Linked DNA regions of Homo sapiens: region 1 is linked to region 2. The links are contacts of gene promoters, found by promoter capture Hi-C in human tissues and cell types (Jung and others, 2019). All regions are on one chromosome and are shown on one strand. The core of a region is centred on a gene start or on the middle of the fragment in contact, and the rest is flanking DNA. Distances in the headings are between cores, read along the strand shown.

Region 1 (4,909 bases), core at 417-2,916, 650 kb after region 2:
CCGGGCACAGTGACTCACGCCTGTAATCCCAATACTTTGAGAGGCCAAGTTGGGCAGATCACTTGAGGTCAGGAGTTTGAGACCAGCCTGGCCAACATGGTAAAACTCCCGTCTCTACTAAAAATACAAAAATTAGCTGAGGGTGGTGGTGGGCGCCTTTAATTCCAGTTACTCCGGAGGCTGAGCCACAAGAATCGCGGGAAGCGGAGGTTGCAGTGAGTCGAGATGGGGCCACAGCACTCCAGCCTGGGCGACAGAGTGGGACTCAGTCTCAAAAAAAAAAAAAAAGTATTTCCCAATTCTTCGTCAGTTTTTGCCCTCTCCCCACTTCGCCTTCTCCAGGCTCCTGAAAAGTATCTCCCCCAACCCTTTCTGTGTACACGGGGAAAACACGTGTTCATTTTTATTATGGCGCTGAAACCTACCCTTCTCTTCAAATCGCTTCTGTAGATCGTTCTAGTATAAAATGTGGCAAGAGGCTAAAGGGAGAGATATAGACCAGTTCTTTGGCCCTCGCTTTCCAACTTCAAGTTACACCTGTGAAACTCATGGGTCCTTCCACAGCCTTCAAAAACTAAGGGCGTCCCCTGTCCTCTCCCCAGATGTCCCTTCCCCATCGCCGGTAGCGAGTGGGAGACAGCTCAGCGCGGGGCAGGGGAGCACTGGGCCCGGAGATGGAAGGCAGCGTCAAAAGCGCCGCTGGAAAATCCCTGAGCGCTAACCGTTGCCTGTGTGAGCCCTTAAATCTACAAATTTCCAACACCTGTAGCCTTTGGGTTTCCCAGGACTTCCATCGACCCTGGCGGCAGAGAGGGCAGGCCTGAGATGCAGTGACTTGAGGGCACATGGCCAACTCTTGTCACTCCAAGATCACACTGGGGAACCAGACTGACTTCTCCAATTCTGAACTCGCCCCGGCCTCGGGCGGCTCAAAGGGCCTCCTCTGCCGCATCCCCGCCAAAACCAAACCGCCTGGCACAAGCCGGTAAGCAACCACCCTGCTGGGAGAGGGAAGGAAGAGTAGGCGCAGCCCTAGATCAATTTCCTTGCACTGCTTCTCCCAGACGGTCAAGTCAGCTGCGTCCCACCGAAAAGGGCGCATCGCCCACGCCCGAAACGCAGCCGCTGGGGGCCGAGAAATTATCCCCACCTGGCCCGAGGGCCAGGGACGCAGGAGCGCAGCAGCGTGGAGGGGCTCCGCGCTGGCCCGGCGCTGCCCGCGGTCCTGCCCTCGTTCCAAGGGCACGGCGCCGGTACGAGGACACCGACGCTGTGGCGCAACTGCCGTCCCCCGCAGCAATCCCGGAGCCCGGCTCCCGGCCGCCCCTCGGCCCTGCGCAGGCTGCCTCTCCCCGACGCGGAGTCCCACCCCGCTACCCGCCGCCCAGACGACCTCATAAACAAGTCCTCGAAGTGCGGAGGCAGGAGGCGGGGCGCAGCGCGGGGGCAGGAGGCGGGCCAGGGTCAGGGCAGAGGCTGCGGCCGCGCGTCCCCATTGGCCGGGACGCAGTGAGCCGCCCGGAGCTCGGCGCGGGCGGGGCCTGCCGGCGCGTGCCCGCCCACACACCCGCGCCGGTGCCCGCCCCCCGCCCTCCGCGCCCGCCCCGTGCCCGCCCCAAGCCGGCCGACGGAGTTTTTAAAGTGGGCTGCCGGCCGCGGGAGCTTTACACTCGCGAGCGGACCGCCACACGGGTCCGGTGCCCGCTGCGCTTCCGCCCCAGCGCTCCTGAGGCGGCCGTACAATCCTCGGCAGTGTCCTGAGACTGTATGGTCAGCTCAGCCCGGCCTCCGACTCCTTCCGACTCCCAGCATTCGAGCCACTTTTTTTTTTCTTTGAAAACTCAGAAAAGTGACTCCTTTTCCAGGGAAAAAGGAACTTGGGTTCCCTTCTCTCCGTCCTCTTTTCGGGTCTGACAGCCTCCACCCACTCCTTCCCCGGACCCCGCCTCCGCGCGCAGGTTCCTCCCAGTCACCTTTCTCCACCCCCGCCCCCGCACCTAGCCCGCCGCGCGCCACCTTCCACCTGACTGCGCGGGGCGCTCGGGACCTGCGCGCACCTCGGACCTTCACCACCCGCCCGGGCCGCGGGGAGCGGACGAGGGCCACAGCCCCCCACCCGCCAGGGAGCCCAGGTGCTCGGCGTCTGAACGTCTCAAAGGGCCACAGCGACAATGACAGCTGACAAGGAGAAGAAAAGGTAAGCGGGCGTCCGGGCCGATCAGGGGGCCGGTCCGAGGCCAGGGCCGGGCTGCGCGGGGCAGGCGCGACCGAGAGTGGTTGGGAGAAGAGTGCTGAGAGGTCTTCGGAGCTCGAGGCTCGGTTTGGAGGGCTGTGAGGGGGAGAGCATGTGCCCGGTTTGGGGGCGCGGATCAGCAGCTTTGCAGTGGAGACTTCTGCGGCTCGGAGGAGTCGGGGATTTGCGCGCACGGCGAGGCCAGGAGGCCGAGGGAGATGGCCTGGAGGTCGGAGGTGCTTCCGCGGTGCCTTTGAAAATCTCCCAGCCGCCCCGCAGCAGATTACCGTGGCCACCGGCGCTTGGAAATGTTTGTGGGTGCATGTCCTCGACTTTCTCTGGTCTCTCATTTTGGGGCAGCATCCACGTCTCTATTTTTCTCTGGATTCGCGGAGTCCTTCCAAATGCGCTCCTGTGCCCGCGCCGCGGCCCAAGTGGGCAAAGGGGGGCGGGAGGCGGAGAGCGGCTCAGGGACACGATCCTACCGAGGAGCCAGGACCCTTCAGAGCGCCCCGCTGCCGGGCTCCAGACCCCACCGAAGGTTGGAGAACCCACTTCCTCGTGCCGCACCTTGACTCTGGGGAGAGTAGGTAGTGAGTGACCTGGATTGCCCTGCGGGGGCAGATGGTTCGGTGTGTAGGAAGCGGACGGCAACACTGGATGTCCCTGGCAGGTCCGGGTGTCTGTCTCCGAAGAGGACAGAGAAGGGCAGCCACGATCTGCCCGCCTGCCCTCGCGAGCCTCTCGGCACTGGGTGAGAGGCAACTCTGGCCATTTCTTGCTGCCCTCTCGCCCTCTCCCGGCCGCTCCCAGTCCAGCCGGGCCCGGCGCTACCCGAGCGAGGGTTCGAGCCCTCTGCGCGGCCGCGCAGAAGCAGGCAGGGCCTCAACTTCTGCAAATGTGTGCGGCTCGCCGCCTGTCCCCTTTCTCCTCCTGTCTCCACCCGTGCGGCCCCAGTGGCCTGGAGCTTCCAGCCCCGCGCTTGGCCGCGGCTTGGCGAGGCTATGCTGCGGGAAGCTGGAATCCAACGCGCGGCCGGCTGAACCGCCTGAGCCGCGGGAAACCAGCGGCGGAGCGGCGGTATAGAGGTGCGAGGATGAGGAGGACCGACTCGCTAAGGGAGGGAGGTGACTGGCCGGGAGGGCTCACTGCCGAGGTTGATTTGCTCTTGTTCCAACTTCCACTACGGGACTGGAGCCAGAAACCGTGTATCCTCCGGTCGAAAGCAGCGGTTCCCACCTCGGGGCACCGATAAGGATTTGATAAACGGGAGCGAATCGCGCCTGTCCTGGCTCGGCGCCCGGGCCCTTCACTGCGGGATCGCTAGGGGAGGGGATTGGGCCCTGCTCCCCTTTCCTGGCCGTAGTCCCCCCTTTCTCGTCACCGTCGCGCCCTCAGACCCAAGACAAGTGAGGGAGCCCTGAGACTGCAGCCGGCACATTCCCAGGGCCCTCGGAGCAGTCCTGGGGTTCCATGTCTTTTGAAGGCAGCAGAGCAAGGAAAAGACTCTTAAGATTCCAGTGCGTTTTGTAAAAACCAATCATAATGCTAATAATGACTGAACCATCGAAAAGCAAAGTTATAGACAGCGCCTGCAGACGCTTTCGGGTCCGGAGCCGGGGAGGGAACTTGTGTATTTTACAACTGCGATGCCTATCGGGAATGTGGCAATCGCCGAGGTGGGGCCTGACAGTAATCTTGACAAATGTGTGAAGTGTCAGCTCCTCCTGCGCTCCTTAGCGCCGGGTTTTGTGCAGTTTTGTACCGTATATACCGAGAAACTTGGGAGCAGGGGAAAAATGATTTCGACACACCCAGCTACAGTACCTGGTTCGTTAGCGGACTGTTGGAAAGAGAGAAGAAGCGGGAATGGGAGCGGGAAGAACGTTGCGTAATTAGACTCCCAATTATTGGCGAGAGCGGCCGCTTTAAGAACCACTGTGGGGACTGCCTGCGAAACGCCTTGGAGGCCGCTGTGTGAGCTGCGGCTCCGGGCTGGTGGCCACGCGAGGGTGTCCGCCCTCTTCGACCTGCCTGGATTTTTGTGCTGCAGAATGGCAGGGCAAACAGCGTGTCCTTCACCATCTAGAGCCCCTTAAGGGGTTGTCCAATTCCTATTGGGCTAATCAGTTTGAGACTCATTTACTTTTCGTGCCTGGGTCTGTTTGCTGGCTGCAGGCTTCTTTAGGGACCAAGATGTAATTAAAATATGTGAACCAATACATTGAAAGTTGGTGTTGTCATGTAAGTGACTGCTGTAGCTTTTCTGAGTGCCTCACAAGGGCGATGTGACAGTGAGGGGGCTCTCTGCTGATGATTCTGCCCACTAGTTCTTACATTTTGTGTTTCTTTGGTTTAGCAGAGCAGTTTCTTCCCCCAAATGCAATATGGGCAGAACATTTGGAATATTCGTTCTAACAATGGCCCGTCAAGAAGTGGGCAGATGATTTTGTCCCAGAATGTTCACACGTCGATAAATATGTTAATGTTTAATAATAAAGAGTTTGCTTTCTAAATGTTAGTTGGCTGGGTGTCCTTGATAGTACCAGTTTTGGTGGTAGTGGGCATTTGCGGTGACATCACAGATGTCAGAAACTGAAGCCTGGTGGGTGGGGGTACTGCACTTTCACTCACCTTTTTGTGCACGCATCTATCAGGAATGCCTGAGTCCTTTCA
Region 2 (4,817 bases), core at 539-3,038:
ATCGGGAGGCGCGTTTTAAATTTTGGTTTACACTAACCAGACCCGCCAGATGAACACTCAGCTTACCACAATACCTACAAATTCCCAGACTTGACTTGGCAGAAGGGCGAGGGCGGAGGTTTTCTTTCCCCATTTGCATAATCCCCAGCTCCCCGGCAGCGGAGCCGACCTCTTCACCGCCGCCGTCTTCGCGGGTGTCCCAGCTGGGCCGCGCCCCGGGGCCCAGCGCTCCGGCCCTGCCCTCCCAGGTTCCCAGTCTCGGGCGCGGGGCAGTCCCTCGCCGGCCGCCGGCCCGGTCCCGGCTCCCAGCCGAGGAAATTTTTCCCCAGCAGCCCAGGGCTCTCCTCACGTGACCAGCCGCGGCGGTAGCTTCCAGCGAGAGTTTAAAGGTTACGGAGGAAATTAGCAAGGACACAGCCACTCGCCCCCCGGAGGGCGCGCCCCATTTTCCCGCAGCCCGGACGGCGGCTGTCAGCGCGCTGATCAGTGCCGAAGTCCCCCAAAGGGGCACCGATAAGGACCAGCGCAAACAGGAACAGTCACTTTGCAAAAAATAAGCAGACCACAAACCAAGCCGGGGCTCTACCGAGCTTTCACTTGTCAACAAGTTCTCGCAGCCTGCGAAGTCCAGGACAGATCCCAAAGGGGAGAATGTCCCCAAAGAAAGGCAAGAGAGAAGAACAGAGTTTAAAACTTCACCCGAGCCATGCTTGTCCCTCCCCCTTCCCCCTCCCCCACCGCCGTGGATCACAGCGTCCCGGGACAGAGTGACAGATGGGCCAGAACTCCGCAGACTGCTCCTGCCCGCCGCGGCCCGAGTGGGGGTGGGCAAGGGAAGGGTCCCGAGGCCTCTAGGGCAACAGGGCCCCCTCCACTCCCCCATCCCCGGCTCTAAAAGACAGTGTTGGCCGCAGGGTCCCCGAGAGATACGCGGCCCGGCGGGGCCCATCCATGGCCATCCACGGCCCCCGGCACGCGCATCCAGCCCAGCGCCGCCGCACCCCGGGGTCCCGCGCGGGGTCCCCGCCCCCCGGCTGACCCGCCCGCCGCTGCGACCCCGGGCAGCCTCGCCAGCTCTCCACCGTTGTCTCCTCGGCTCACTTTTTCCGTATTGCTCCCCCAACCGGCAAAACTTTCTATTTCCCCAAACACTGCCGTGCGCGCGCGCGCGTGCACACACACACACTCACACACACACACTCACACACACTGACGTCTTTTGCGCATTTCCTGCATTAGAGGGAGGGAGACTCGCTCGCACACCGACAGAGGGAGAGGAGACCGCGGGGGAGCGCGGGCTGGCGGGCGGCGAGCGAGCGGCAGCCGAGAGCGGGGACGCGGGGAGCGCGGAGGGCGGGCGCCGGCGCCCAGGAGGTGGGGCCGCGCTGAGTCGCAGTCCCTGCCCCGCCGCCGCGCTGCGCACCGCCCGGTGCTGGCCTGCGCCCCCGAGCCGGATCGGCGGCCGCCCGGACTCCGAGCCCGCGCGGATGTGAGATTCCGGGCTCCTGGCGCCTCCCGATCGCCGGCTCCGGCGCGGCGCTGCTTCGCCCAGGAGGCGGCGGCCCCGGCTGGCCGTGGGGCTTGTGGATTTTTAAAAATTTGGCTCCGAGGAGGACCATTTCCTCTCGACATGCATCCCTCCGGATAGACTGAACATCCCTCCGTTCACCCCCCCGCCCCGCGCGGTCAGAGGCAGGCGCTGAGTGTGCGAAGAGGATCCGGGTTGAAATCTGCGCCCCCGGTTCTCGTCCCCGCCCCGTCCCACCGCCCCATCCCCCTCCCGGAGTCGAAATTTCCCGGGATTATGTTTCGGAAAGGTAGGTAAGCGCCGGGCGCGGCGCCCGCTTTCCCGCAGTCCGGAGCCGGAGAGCCAGCGAGGCGGCGAGGCAGCCCCCGCGGCTTGCAGCGGAGCCGACAGCTCGTCTTCTCTTCTGGAGGTGCAGCTGGTGGTCGGGGGGAGAGACTTGCTCCAAACACGGACATCCCCCAGCTCTCCCCCCTCCCTGTTTTCCGTTAGGAACCCGGCGAGGAAATACATGCACTGGCTGAGAATCGCCCGCGCCAGGGCGCAACGCCACAAGGTGTAGGGAGTGTGCGGGGTGGGGCGAAAGGGGACCCAAGAGTCCCTGTGGCTCGGAGTGCCGGGCCGTCGGTTCTTCATTCCTGCCCTCGGGGCAGACGGAGTGACCCCGGCCCCCACTCCCCGCCCCGACCATGGTAGTGTTCAATGGCCTTCTTAAGATCAAAATCTGCGAGGCCGTGAGCTTGAAGCCCACAGCCTGGTCGCTGCGCCATGCGGTGGGACCCCGGCCGCAGACTTTCCTTCTCGACCCCTACATTGCCCTCAATGTGGACGACTCGCGCATCGGCCAAACGGCCACCAAGCAGAAGACCAACAGCCCGGCCTGGCACGACGAGTTCGTCACCGATGTGTGCAACGGACGCAAGATCGAGCTGGCTGTCTTTCACGATGCCCCCATAGGCTACGACGACTTCGTGGCCAACTGCACCATCCAGTTTGAGGAGCTGCTGCAGAACGGGAGCCGCCACTTCGAGGACTGGGTGAGTGCGGCGCCTCCCCGTCATTCCGGGAACCCGGTTGTGGGGTCCCGGGGAAAGACTCGCTGGTCTTGATCGTAGGGCTCCGGGACTTATTGACGACTGGGGTGTGTGTGCCTGTAAGTCTCAGTTTCCTTGGGGAGGTACACTTCACTTCATAGTTGGGGAGAAACAGGCATTGGCGAGGAAGATGAGACTTGGAAAGAGGATGTGGCCCTCTGCTCCCTCTGTGCCCTCCAGTTGGTGGGTGCTGCGGGAGGTTTGCAAACTGGGAGAGCCTGGGCCACTGGTGCTGAAGGTTGGCCGAGGACCCGGCTTTCTTCCGCAGGCGCGTGGTGGGCTGGCTGTGTGTGATTGTGTGTGGGTGGGTCCCTCCGTCCTTGGAAAGGCACGTGGAGCCTTTGACTGAAGGCTTCTTGCACGTCCTGGCTTTGTCCTGCTTAGCCGAGCGAGGAGTTGCTTTATTTTTCCCTCCGAGAGGAAGCTGGCTTGTTTCTATTCTCTTGCATGGTGGTTAGCTCATCTTCTGACATACAAGTAGAAAAAATGTGTTCTCCTCCAGGATGTCTCCTCTATGGTCCCAGAAACATCAGTCGAGCTTGTTTTGTCCAATTCATTGCCCATCCATGCAGAATGAATGTTGCATTTTAAGAAGGGTTCTGCTTGTGGGTAATTGGAAGTCAGTGCTTTGAATCTTATTTAAAGTTATATTGTTTCTCTGTTTTGATTGTCAAGATACTGTGCAATAAAAGACGATTTCTAAGTATGAGATTGAGTTGTTAATTGATTCCATTATTAAACTATTAAGGATTTGGAAAGAGGTCTTGTCTCAATCTACTATAAACCAAATGCATCCAGTCTTGGCACTTGGACAAGCAGAGAGAAGCAAACCTTCATTTTGCTTTTTGTGTTTGTTTTTGGGTTGTTTTTTTTTTTTTTTTTTTTTTTTTCTCTCTTCTTGGAAGGAAGGTATTAATTTAGGATGTGGATTTTTGTGTTTTCAGGTTTGTTACATGTTTCCAGCAAGTACAAGCGTTCCTCTGGAGGTATATGTTTTCAGGGTTCTTTGGTCTACACAAAAAGTGAGAGAGCTATCTAAGCCTCAAAAGTGGTGTAGAGCAATTGCTTTCTATTGAAAACCAGCTAACTTCATGAATGTCCTAGAGGTCAGAGGTTGCACATGGATCACTTTGGCATATCACCTTACATATTTTTTTCAAGGACACGGAGTTTTAGGGAAAAATAAGAGAGAGCCTGTTGTTTTTGTGCTCATGGCTGTGATGTAGTCTGCCTGAAACCATGGTTACGGTTTCACAGGGAAGCTCCAACAAGCCACATGCGTAGAACTCTAGATTTGTGGTTTGCACTTTGGAAAGCAGGCAAACCTTTATGGAATCCCAGAGAACTCCATGCCATTCTATTCTACTTCACAGATGTCCCTCATCTCTGCTTCCTTCAGCCCCCACAACAGAGCTCCCACTCATTCCCCATTTCTTTTCCATGCATGGCCTTTGGGCCCTTTCCTCATGAATGCAGTGCATATGAGAGGGGGAGTGGAAGGGATAACTAATTTCAGAGGTAGACCTTGACTCTGAAAACCTGTGATTTTGGAGTTGTTGTTTTTGGACAGGAAGGGGGTGGAAAAAACTTGACGCTGGTAGCTAGGAGATGGGAGCCTTTTGCAGTGTATGCAGATGAGGGGCTTGGACAGTGGGGCAGAGAGCAGGGATGAGGAGCAGCAGGTCTGCATTTATCCATAGAACAGATGTTGGTTGGAGGGAGAGTGTCTTTGTATCTCTGGTGATGCTTCACTGGGGCACACCCCAAACTCTGGGAGCTTCAGGACACTGTCCCCACCTTCATCCCTCCTAGTGAAGCATGCAGTGGGAACTTGTTTGGTTATCATCCTCTAAGGTTCTCAAATTCATGTTGGATTTGGCCCTAGGCCAGATCATCTAGTGCACAGGCAAGTTTTACAGATGAGGACATTGAGTTCCAGAGAAGCTAGTTGGGGACCGAGGGTCACATGACAAGCAAAGGTGGGTTGGAAGTAGGGCCCTCACCGCCTGTTGCCCATGGCTTGTCTGATGGGGAGCCGAGCCTGCCCATCTGGCCTCCCAGCCTATTCTCCCTGCAGATCCATGTGCTGTGTCCCTGACATTTTTATTGTACTTGATAACTTCATCTCTTTTGCCTTATAGCAACTGTGAATTAGGTATGGCAGGTATTGGACAAACTAAAAAACTTGAGATAGAGAA

Evidence for each region. The method cuts DNA at HindIII sites, captures the fragments that hold promoters and counts their contacts. A contact is called where the count stands out against the background at its distance.
Region 1: a contact is called between the fragment with the promoter of EPAS1 here and the fragment with the promoter of PRKCE in region 2, in 1 of the 25 tissues and cell types used here (H1 embryonic stem cells).

What each region holds. Positions count from the first base shown.
Region 1 is chr2:46,295,741-46,300,649 of GRCh38, forward strand. EPAS1 (endothelial PAS domain protein 1) reads left to right here and starts at 1,667. Exons shown (of 16, transcript NM_001430.5): 1 at 1,667-2,197. The coding sequence starts at 2,172. RefSeq lists silencers at 1,121-1,700, 1,931-2,260. The HindIII fragment of the contact is 17,489 bases long and covers 1-4,909 here.
Region 2 is chr2:45,649,887-45,654,703 of GRCh38, forward strand. It overlaps PRKCE (protein kinase C epsilon), which reads left to right and starts at 1,789. Exons shown (of 15, transcript NM_005400.3): 1 at 1,789-2,562. The coding sequence starts at 2,215. LOC102724965 (a long non-coding RNA gene) reads right to left here and starts at 1,329. Exons shown (of 2, transcript XR_005647119.2): 1 at 79-1,329. RefSeq lists silencers at 219-318, 949-1,048, 1,219-1,688 and enhancers at 1,064-1,358, 1,847-2,467. The HindIII fragment of the contact is 9,634 bases long and covers 1-4,817 here.